2 separate regions of the Homo sapiens genome follow, and region 1 is linked to region 2. Evidence: promoter capture Hi-C in 16 types of primary human blood cells and fetal thymus (Javierre and others, 2016). All regions are on one chromosome and are shown on one strand. The core of a region is centred on a gene start or on the middle of the fragment in contact, and the rest is flanking DNA. Distances in the headings are between cores, read along the strand shown.

Region 1 (6,068 bases), core at 395-2,894, 570 kb after region 2:
CTTTGTCCAAAGAATTTATAATTTTCTCATTTTACTTATGTTTATTGTCTCTCTTCTTGTTAGAATGTAAGCTAAGGGGTGTTCTAGTTCCTGGTTCATAAGAGGTATTCCTTTTTCAAAAAATAAACAAATAAATAAACTTCATGCACCATCTGCCTCTTGTCAAGATCTACATTTTAGGGAAACTAACCCACAACTCAAGAATGGCAGGTGGTGAAGTCACTATTACACCATTTCCAGATCCAGGAACAGAACATTATGTTAACTTTCAATGCAACTGAGACTAAAAGGAGGAAAAAATGGGGAGTTTTCAAGGTAGTTTCCAAATTTTAAAAAGGTTTTCTTTTCTCTGTTTATTGAATGGTTCAGAGATGATTTTTGCAGCCTAGTAGTAACTGGGGGTAATTTATTAGAAACATAAATGTGGTTAAATGAAGAAATAGACCTTCAAGTCAAGATAAAAGAACCCTCTAAATAGCAGTTCTCAGAGCCAGGGATTACCGTGCTCTGGGAAGAAACCTGCACTTTACAGTGGCTATTTGCCAAATGGGCCAACATGAGCAAGAAAACAACCTGAGATTCTTTCATTCATTCAATAAGCAATTATAAAGCAAGCACTATTCTAATAGATGATGCTTATTCTTGGAACCCAGACACTAAACTGTGAGGAAACCCATGCAGCTGTGGAGAGGTCCAAATGAAGAAAAACCAAGAACCCTGGCCCACATCCCAGGCTCAGGTCCCAGCTGAAAGCCGTCACCAACTTACTGGCCATGTGAATGAGCCAATCTGAAAGTGGGTCCTCCAACCTAAGCCACCCCAGCTAACACTCCACGGAGGCAAAGAAGAACTGTCTGTCCTGAACTCTGCCCAATTTGCAGATTTCTTTACCAAAATAATAACTGCTGTTGTCTTAAGCGTTTAGGTTTTGGGGTGGTTTGTTCCACAGTATTAGATAACTGATACTCTATAGTAATTAGATTGCTGACATCACTGAGTCAGTGTTTAATATAAAAGGTGTGTGTGTGAACAACTCTTTGTATATTTCTCACTACAGAAAAGTATCCTCTGATTATTCTAAATGTCAAAAAACATGGCTGTAAATTTGAGTACAATCTCTCTTTTCTGTTATACTTACATCAATCCAGTCAATTCATAAGCTACTTTCCCCTATCACAGCCAATCCTAAGCTTTAGGGAAACGGGCAGAGTTACTAAAGTCCTAACTCCTCTAACTGTAAATGCCAACTCCTTTTTCTCTGCCTGAGTGGCTGTTGCTCTGTCAGTGATTAAGCCAAGGCTCCAGAGGCAGATTGTGATTCTGATCTCTGCCACATATTAGCTGTGTCTTCGGTTTCCTCATCTGTAAATCAGGAATAATAATACCTGCCTCATGGCACTAGGAGGAACAAATGAATTAATCCATATATCAAATAGAATACTTGGACTAGTATTTAGTGCATAAAACGTAATTAGTATTTGATAAATAATGGCTTAATACAACACGCAGAAAAAACTAGCTACCTTTACTACCCAAGCACACATGGTATCAACCCATAGCCAACCTAGCTTATTCCACAACTAAGAATCTTCACCTGTTTTCATCCTCTTTTCTTCCAACTGCCTTATTTCCATTTATCTCTCATTGTTAATTTACCAAAAAAAAAAAAATGGGAGAAAGGAAAAATAAAAGCAAGTAATTGAGAAATCTGCTTTATTGGGAATTCTGGGAAAGGGCTGAGACAGAAAATAATATAAGGTACATAGATCGTCTGTACATTCCGTACTTCTGGCTCCTCAGAGGCCATGGATTGTGATAAACTGACAGTGTGCATAACATACTAAGGCCAATTTATGTTCAGAACACACAGACACCAAAAAGTCCAAAGGCACGGCACACACCTGCAGTTCATACTGACATTAGTCATAAATCAATTAAGAACCATTTGTAGAATGACACTTAAAATTATGTTTCAAATGCTCACTAATGTGACAAAACAGCTCAATCTGGAGACAAAAAAGACATGAATGGCAAACTGCCTAGAAGTCTAAGCAATATATAATAATTACATATGTACTTCTGTACATTCAAAAGCTTCAAAAGTATCCTATACTACCCTTAATATTAGCCTAGACCTTCACTTGTTACAAAATTAAGATGTTTATTTCCTTTATTATTTATGTTCTGCAGCACTTACACAGCATGATTCCACCCAGCTATATTAAGTACTGAAAATGGTGGTTGAAAATGCTATTTCACACAAACTATCCACTAGTCCTTGTTTTATGTTAACTAAGATGTATGGTCTGAAGAACATATCGAAGTACTCAACTTAAACTCTGATAGTAGTTTTCTCACCTGGCCTAGTTTCTCACCGACCCCTTCTCACTAGGTAGAAAGCAGAAGAGATAAATTTCCTTTTATCTCTTAAGTTGGCAAGGGATGTAGGTTTCTGGTTTCAGCTGCCTTTCCCTTCATTACAACAATGAAGTGTGGGGAAAAAGTAGCCAAGTGATACAAGGTAAAGCCACTAGGATGCTCCTTATAAGCCTCCCTATGTACAACTCACATGAAAGCCAAAACTAGAGAAAAGCATCAACAGAATTTTCCATGCCCTCAAAACCCAGCTCTGCACTTGATAGGTTCTAAGACATCTTTTTCAACAAAGGATGAAATCTACAGAGAAAAGAGAACCAATTACTTTGTGTAGACACATTTTTGACAAACATGAATACGTTAAGACTATTTGAGGAAAGGACTGCCTTTGGCTCTGTTACCCTCCTGCAATTCCAGATTCAGTAACACCTGGTACTCAGATACATTGTATTTCTTCAGTTCATGTGTCACTTTGATAAATGTGGAAAGTACTTTTAGCCAAAAACTCAAATTAGATTTCATTTAAAAATCTGGCTGAACAAAACCGTGTATACTTGGTGGTTTGAATTCTGACGTTTAAGTTACACGGTAACTTTTAACCTACAGCCAATAGTGATATCATATGGCGAAATGTGCTCAACAACAACAACAAAAAATTGGAACCAGATTTGGAGACAAGCTCATCTCAGGATAAGAAGCTAGAATTCTTCCTATAAAATAATGAAAAGCTGACAAACTCAGAGAATGCTGGAATAGAAACATTTTACTTCTAACCAGTTCCACATGACTCAAACTCAATGCCATATGCTCCGTGGTTACCTTTTCCTTAAAGCACAGTCTCATAAGAAAACCACAGAGTAACTGGCCCACTAGTAGCATGATTTACCCTTCCTCATCCAAGTCTGATGTCTCAAACTATAAAGATTCCAGACCTAGTGAGGGCGCAGCATTAACCCAGAACAAAAACAGGGTAAAAGCACTGTCAATTCCAAACATTTGTTAATTTTTTTAAGACCTAACTAAAACATATTTAAAACCTCCTTAGTATGTTCATTTATGATTTGCAGCAAAGGAGGATGACTATAGTGACCTTTAAAATAGAAAGGGGAAAACATAACAAAGGAATCTATAATCTGCAATCCTATGTGCCAGGAAGAAGTTCCCTTCACAGATTATGCTGTGGCCCCTACTCTGTCCAAAACAGAGGTCCATAAATGTCCTCAAGTATATGAGACAAACCTATCTATACAGAGGTGTCTGTCTAGAGACATTTTAATAAAAACTTCCCTTACGTACATTATCTTATAATCTAATGAATAAGTGCTTTTACAATTTCCATAGTGGCTAATGTATAGGAAGAAAGAAATACAAAACTATACAAAACAATGTATAGGAAGAAAGAAATACAAAACTACACACAACAGTTTTCAACCCTAGACATACTTCAGAATCTCCTGGGAAAAATGTTTGGTTTACAAACAAATGCCTTTGACCTACCCTATCAGACTTCATAGGTCTTGGGTAGGGCTCAGTTAGCAATATTTTTAAGATTCCAGAGTAAGGCTGGGCATGCTGGCTGACATCTGCAATCCCAACACTTAAGGAGGCTGAGGCAGGAGCATCACTTGAGCCCAGAAATTCGAGACCAGCCTGAGCAACATAATAAGATGTCATCACTTCAAAAAAACTTTTTTAAATGAGCCAGGTACGGTGGTGTGTATCTAGAGTACTAACTACTCAGGAGGCTTGAGCCTAGGAGTTCAAGACTGCAGTGAGTCATGATCATGCTGCTGCACTCCAGCCTGGAAAACAAAGCAAGATCCTGTCTCTAAAAATAAAAATAAAAAATAAAATTAAAGACAATTCAGGTTATACATTTTTTGGGACAAGAACATCATAGAAGTGATACTGTGCCCTTCTCAGTGCATCCCATCAGGAGCTGCAGATGTCAATATGTCTCATGACTGGGAATGTTACTTTATTCCTTAGTTATGGTGGCATAACCTCTTGTCCAATATCTCTCACATTTTCTATCTCTCTGTCTCCCTGTGTTACATTCTATATAATTTCTTCAGATCCATCGTCCCATTCACTATTTCTTTCTTCAAGTATATCTATTTTTTTGTTTTGTTATTATTATTATTATACTTTAGGTTTTAGGGTACATGTGCACAACGTGCAGGTTTGTTACATATGTATACATGTGCCATGTTGGTGTGCTGCACCCATTAACTCGTCATTTAGCATTAGGTCTATCTCCTAATGCTATCCCTCCCCCCTCCCCCCACACCACAACAGTCTCCAGTGTGTGATGTTCCCCTTTCTGTGTCCATGTGTTCTCATTGTTCAATTCCCACCTATGAGTGAGAACATGCGGTGTTTGGTTTTTTATCCTTGCAATAGTTTGCTGAGAATGATAGTTTCCAGTTTCATCCATGTCCCTACAAAGGACATGAATTCATCTTTTTTATGGCTGCATAGTATTCCATGGTGTATATGTGTCACATTTTCTTAATCCAGTCTATCATTGTTGGACATTTGGGTTGGTTCCAAATCTTTGCTATTGTGAATAGTGCCGCAATAAACATACGTGTGCATGTGTCTTTATAGCAGCATGATTTATAATCCTTTGGGATTATAAATCCTTTCCATGTTTAGTGCTTCCTTCCGGAGCTCTTGTAGGGCAGGCCTGGTGGTGACAAAATCTCTCAGCATTTGCTTGTCTGTGAAGTATTTTATTTCTCCTTCACTTATGAAGCTTAGTTTGGCTGGATATGAAATTCTGGGTTGAAAATTCTTTTCTTTAGGAATGTTGAATATTGGCCCCCACTCTCTTCTGGCTTGCAGAGTTTCTGCCTAGAGATCAGCTGTTAGTCTGATGGACTTCCCTTTGTGGGTAACCCAACCTTTCTCTCTGGCTGCCCTTAACACTTTTTCCTTCATTTCAACTTTGGTGAATCTGACAATTATGTGGCTTGGAGTTGCTCTTCTCGAGGAGTATCTTTGTGGCGTTCTCTGTATTTCCTGAATTTGAATGTTGGCCTGCCTTGCTAGATTGGGGAAGTTCTCCTGGATAATATCCTGCAGAGTGTTTTCCAACTTGGTTCCATTCTCCCCATCACTTTCAGGCGCACCAATTAGACGTAGATTTGGTCTTTTCACATAGTCCCATATTTCTTGGAGGCTTTGTTCGTTTCTTTTTATTCTTTTTTCTCTAAACTTCTCTTCATGCTTCATTTCATTCACTTCGTCTTCCATCGCTGATACCCTTTCTTCCAGTTGATCGCATTGGTTACTGAGGCTTGTGCATTCGTCACATAGTTCTCGTGCCATGGTTTTCAGCTACATCAGGTCCTTTAAGGACTTCTCTGCATTGGTTATTCTAGTTATCCATTCATCTAATTTTTTTTTCAAAGTTTTTAACTTTTTTGCCATTGGTTCGAACTTCCTCCTTTAGCTCGGAGTAGTTTGATCTTCTGAAGCCTTCTTCTCTCAACTCGTCAAAGTCATTCTCCGTCCAGCTTTGTTCTGTTGCGGGTGAGGAGCTGCGTTCCTTTGGAGGAGGAGAGGCGCTCTGATTTTTAGAGTTTCTGGTTTTTCTGCTCTGTTTTTTCCCCATCTTTGTGGTTTTATCTATCTTTGGTCTTTGATGATGGTGACGTACAGATGGGTTTTTGGTGTGGATGTCCTTT
Region 2 (6,105 bases), core at 1,560-4,059:
TTACTTAGTTCTTAAAATGTTAATATCAGTATGATTTTTGTTTATCTTATAATATGAGTTAAATATATTTAAATTACACCAAATTATCACTAAATTTATTTGCTAGTTTATTTAATGTACAAGATATTTAATTAAAACTGTTCACTCAAATTCTACATTCTAAAGTCAGTTGAAATAATTTTCTTTATGATTATATTACCAAAGTAATGTTCAGTTAGATACATTATTTTAGTTTTTATTCCTCCTTTTAGGAATACCCTTTTACTTGTTTATTTTCAATGTGTAAAACAATTATGGCCGGGCGCTGTGGCTCACGCCTGTAATCCCAGCACTTTGGGAGGCCGAGGTGGGTGGATCACGAGGTCAGGAGATTGGGACCATCCTGACTAACATGGTGAAACCCCGTCTCTACTAAAAATACAAAAAATTAGCTGGGCGTGGTGGCAGGGGCCTGTAGTCCCAGCTATTCGGGAGGCTGAGGCAAGAGAATGGCATGAACCCAGGAGGCAGAGCTTGCAGTGAGCCGAGATCGCACCACTGCACTCCAGCCTGAGCGACAGAGTGAGACTCTGTCTCAAAACAAAACAAAACAAAACAAAAAAACAATTACATGATTCTACATTCAAAACTCCACAGCAGGCTGGGCGCAGTGGGTCACATCTGTAATCCCAGCACTTTGGGAGGCCGAGGCAGGCAGATCACTTGAAGTGAGGAGTTTGAGACCAGCCTGGGCCACATGGTGAAACCCTGTCTCTACTAAAAATACAAAAATTAGCTAGTCATGGTGGCACGTGCCTGTAGTCCCAGCTACTTGGGAGGCTGATGTGGGAGAATTGCTTGAACCAGGGAGGCAGAGGTTGCAGTAAGCCGAGATCACACCACTGCACTCCAGACTGGGTAACAGAGTGAGATTCTGTCTCAAAACAAAACAAAACAAAAAACCAACAACTCTACAGCAAGTTTTACTGAGAGAAGTCTCACCTCTATGCATGTTTCCGCTCTCCTCTTAGAGGCAGAAGTTTTTAGTTTTAATTAGTTTTAGTTTTGTTCTTCCAGTGGGTGTTTCGTTTGTTTTTTAAATATGAGCAAATATTATAAATGTATATATTTATTTATATCCCCCATACTCTATATACTATTGTGCATCTTGCTGCTTTCACCTAAAAATACATCCTGAAGATTATTGCATATCAGCATATAGAGATCTTCCTCAATCCCATTTTATTATTCTATAGTAATATTCCATTGTATACATGAATCACAGTTTATTCACCTGTCCCTCTATTCACAAGTCTTTGAGTTGTTTGTAATCTTTTTCTATTAAAAAATACTACCTTATTCACAAGTCATTTTCTAATTCTGCCTGTGTAGTTTTGTGACAGATTTCTAGAACTGAGATTGTTCTATCAGATGGTGAAGGCATACATAAATTTGCAAGATATTGCCAAACCATCTTTTACTATAGTTGTAACTATTTTTTATTCCAACTAATGATATACAAGATATTCTATTTTCTTTCACCATGACCAACCCAATAAGCTTTCAAACTTTTGATTTTCACCCATATGATAGGTGAGAGTTGTTATCTCAGCATGCAGGTAATTTGCATTTCTTTTATTGTGAGGGTTGGATTTTGAAACAGCAAAAAGGGCAAGGAAGCCCCTGTGATGACCAAGAGCCTGAGCATGCTTTCAGTTATTTCCTCTCTTATGTCAAAAAGCATCTTTACACCACGATTGTGAATTTATTCACAAGAAATACCAAATTTCTTCTTTCATTATTAACAACTCTGTCTTCAACTGCCATAGTTTCCAGAGAATTGAATAATGAATTGTCCAAAACCACAGAAGAAAAGTTGCTATTTGAGAGCATATCTGTCTGATAACGAGTTCCCTGATCAGTGAAACTGCACTATGCCAAATGCAGAGTGGGAATTCCAAGGAAGAACAAAGATCTGTTACAAGGAAGTTCCATAGAAGATACACCCAACTGTGAGTAAACAGCTGGTAAGCAAAGTAGCAAGGTGAAATAAACATCTAGGTTAAGAAGAAGTTAAGATCTCCAGGTACTACGGAGATGAAGAAAACAAAAAAAAGAAGAAGTTAAGAGAAGTAAAGATGAATCGTTAGCACATAGTTCTATTTTCATAGATAACATTTTTGAGATATATATAGTGATTTTCTGTAGATATATGAGTATACCCAGATATCCCTCCCACCTACACCAGCCCTTTCTCCAAAAGGAACAATGCTTGAGGGTGTTCAAATGGCCTTTTTTCACCAGTGGCTGGGAGCCTTAGCCATGGAATGGGCTGTCCTCATCCACAGTGTCCCACTGTTTTTTATTGCCATTAATGTCTTCCATTTTTAGTGTCATTTGATCCACGGAAATCCCACCCTTTCAATTTTCCCATTGTATCTGAGCATATCAATTCTCTCAGCATCCAAATGGTTTTTGAGCACCCAGTCTAAGCTAAGCATAGCCCAATCCTAGGCAACTTCAGCAGAAAATGGGTACCATTACAGCAAAAGCAGCGGTGTGCTTCCTGGAAAGGATACCAGTAGCCAAAGAAGTTGATGATAGTCCATGGTAATATACAAGGCTGCAACACAGTTCCAGGAAGCTTGACTTCAGCATTGCCTCCCTAGCCATGAGCATCACTGATTCCATTGTGTGTTTAAATGTGCTTTACCTACTTCTGTGAGTCACATGTGGGCCATTTAGAGGGTGAAAAGTGTTGGTCATTTTATCACCCCGCCCTCCTCATTTCCTGAATCTTGTGAAGCTGGCTGAGTCCCACAGACCGCTAGAGGAAGAGGTAGCTCCACAGGAGGTACAGCTGCTTACACATCTCTCCTCAGAGCTGTCCCTTGACTTGGGGGTGAATTTCAGGCCAACAGGGCTTCCTGGGATACAAGAGCGTTCTCCATGGATCTGCCTTACTACCATGGACGTCTGACCAAGCAAGACTGTGAGACCTTGCTGCTCAAGGAAGGGGTGGATGGCAACTTTCTTTTAAGAGACAGCGAGTCGATACCAGGAGTCCTGTGCCTCTGTGTCTCGTGAGTAGCCTCATCTTGCACACATCTGACATCGTATGTTGAATGTGGCAATGGCTGCCACACAGTACAGGAATTCATATCCCTCAGTATTTCACTCTGACTTTGGAGTCTCAATGAGTAGAATGAGAAGTAATGGACACTGCCAGGAGAGGAATGTATCTGTCCATGCTCCTCCATCTGCCTGCTCTCCCTGGTGTAAAGGCCCTGCAAGCAGACTCTGCAGCAGCAGGAGGGACATGGTGGTGGTGAAGGGAAGGGCTGCAGGAAGTACAGGGGTACAGAGGGATGGAAAGAAGGTACAAATGTCAGAGGTCCTGTCCTCCAGAGATCTGTTTATTTGGTATGGAAAAGGCTAGGGGTTCTTCAAGAAATTTCAATCTGAAACACTTATTCTGCAGCATCTGCTTGCAATACGTAAACTATAAATACAATCATATTTCACATTTTGTTAGATTTGTGAAGGACTTCAATATTCGTCATTTCCTTTCATCCTAGTAGTCTATCAAGGCAAGCATAAGCAGTCACCATTTCATAGGTAAAGAAACAGAGACCTGAATTTCTCAAATAATTTGTTTGTGTTAAAACTCATTTGGAATTTCCAGAGTCTAAGTTAAACATGAAATTCCAGGCTGGGCATGGTGGCTCATGCCTGTAATCCCAACACTTTGGGAGGCTGAGGCAGGTGAATCACTTGAGGTCAGGAGTTTGAGACCAGCCTGGCCAACACGGCAAAACCCCATCTCTACCAAAAATACAAAAATTAACCTGGTGTGGTGGCGTGTGCCTGTAATACTGGCTACTTGAGAGGCTGAGACAGGAGAATCACTTGAACCCAGGAGGCAGAGGCTGCAGTGAGCTGAGATTGCACCACTGCACTCCAGCCTGGGCAATAGAGTGAGACTCTGTCCAAAAAAAAGAAAAAAGAGTGGCTGGGCACAGTGGCTCACTCCTGTAATCCCAGCACTTTGGGAAGCGGAGGCAGGTGAATCACCTGAGGTCGGGAGTTCGAGACCAGCCTGACCAACACGAAGAAACCCCGTCTCTACTAAAAATACAAAATTAGCCAGGTGTGGTGGCGTATGCTTGTAATCCCAGCTATTTGGGAGGCTGAGGCAGGAGAATCACTTGAACCCGGGTGGTGGAGGTTGCAGTGAGCTGAGATTGTGCCATTGCACTCCAGCCTGGGCAACAAGAGCAAAACTCCATCTCAAAAAAAAAAAAAAAAAGAAAAAGAAAAACAAATTCCAGGCCACAGTATCAAAGAGACCTAGCTGAAGGAACTTGTTTATGCCCAGTTTAGAAAGCAATCCTGAACAGAAATCACTAGAAACCTCCTATCTTTATGTATGTTCCTCTTTGTAAAGTAGGGACCACTGAACCTTTTATTATACCTGTAACAGAAATTAAAATCCAAATGTCTCTTGTTAAAGAAAAAAATTACTCAATGTCACTTGTTAAATTATGGTTGGGAAGACTTTATTCAGGATCATCACAAAGGTACAGGGACCACTGCAATGAGCTCTTGCGGCACAGAAAAGAGACTGGACTCAACTCTGAATCCAGCATGGACAAGTGGGAATTTATGGCCAAGGAGCAGTGTGGCTGTCGGTAGACAGAAAATTACTCGGAGGAAACATCAGGGGTAAAGTGGATTCTGGCTAAACCAGCCTAACAGAATTGTAGCTGAAGACAGGCCCGGGTGATCAGATGTTGCCTGGGGGATGGTGGAGGATGAGGAATCTGATCAGAATCCAACAGTGATCAGATAGCTAGGGTGAGGGGTCCTTGCCAAACTGACTTAGTAGGGTTCTTTGCTAAAACTGGATTTTACAAGGAAGTACACAAATGGGCCTTGGAATAGGCTCAGAAGTCTGATTATAGACAAAAGTGATTGTCATTACTAATAGAATACACAGGGACATATTTCTTTCTTTAAATGGTACTGGAGATACAGGCTATTTCTCTCATATCTACATCCAACAGTACCATTTAAAGAAAAATATATATTGGCCAGGCGCGGTGGCTCATGCCTGTAATCCTAGCAATTTGGGAGGCTGAGGTGGGCTGATCACTGAGGTCAGGAGTTCAAGACCAGCCTGGCCAACATAATGAAACCCCCATCTACTAAAAATACAAAAATTAGCCAGGCATGGTGGGTGCAGTTGTATCCCAGCTACTTGGGAGGCTGAGGCATGAGAATCGCTTGAACCCAGGAGGCAGAGGTTGCAGTGAGCCGAGATCGCGCCATTATACTCCAGCCTGAGAGACAGAGAAAGACTCTCCATCTCAAATAAAATAAACAAAGAGTGGAAAAGATCTGCTTACATGTAAATGGGATGGAGGGCATTTTAGGAAGGGGAGGAGGTAGGAACAGGAGTCTAGAAGTGGGATATTTTAAAGGATTTACATACAAGGTTCCTAAAATGTAGTTTGGAAACCAGCTTTTGGAAAAGGAGGGTGGGATAAGATCATGGAGTTTTAAAAGAATGGTTCTATAGATAACAGGGAAACATGGATGGTTTCTGAGCAGGGAAGTGAAAAGACTGGTGAATTTAGGAACTTCAATTTGACGTGGAGAACACAATGAAGCTGGGAAATGATGGCAACAGAAACTGTTGTGTCTCTGGACGGGAGACGGTGAAGAGCTAGTTGTGCTGGGGCAAGCAGTGGGAAGGGAAAAAACAAGAAGGTGCAAGGACAGACCTTGGCCAGGATCTCAGGGTATATGGTCAATATGGGATTCTCTTCCTTCCTTTCTTTCTTTTTTTTTTTTTTAGACAGGGTCTCACTCCAGCTCCTAGGCTGGAGTGCAGTGGTGCGATCATGGCTCACTGCAACCTCAACCTTCTGGGTTCAAGAGATTCTCCTGTCTCAGGCCCCCTGAGTATCTGGGACTACAGGTGCGCACTACCATGCCTGGTTAATGTTTAAATTTTTTGTAGACATGGGGTCTCGCTATGTTGCCCAGGCTGATTTCGAGCTCCTGGGCTCCAGTGATCCACCCACCTCAGCCTCCCAAAGTGCTGGGATTACAGGCATGAGC

The links. The method cuts DNA at HindIII sites, captures the fragments that hold promoters and counts their contacts. A CHiCAGO score of 5 or more calls a contact.
Region 1: a fragment that was not itself captured here is called in contact with the fragment with the promoter of SH2D1B in region 2 in 1 of 17 cell types (M0 macrophages); the score reaches 6.7 in M0 macrophages.

What each region holds. Positions count from the first base shown.
Region 1 is chr1:161,833,225-161,839,292 of GRCh38, reverse strand. All of the region lies in intron 9 of ATF6 (activating transcription factor 6), which reads right to left. Among named protein-coding and RNA genes, the nearest start is that of ATF6, 70 kb to the right of the region's middle. The HindIII fragment of the contact is 904 bases long and covers 1,193-2,096 here.
Region 2 is chr1:162,408,840-162,414,944 of GRCh38, reverse strand. SH2D1B (SH2 domain containing 1B) reads left to right here and starts at 2,809. Exons shown (of 4, transcript NM_053282.5): 1 at 2,809-3,062. The coding sequence starts at 2,929. The HindIII fragment of the contact is 13,514 bases long and covers 2,626-6,105 here.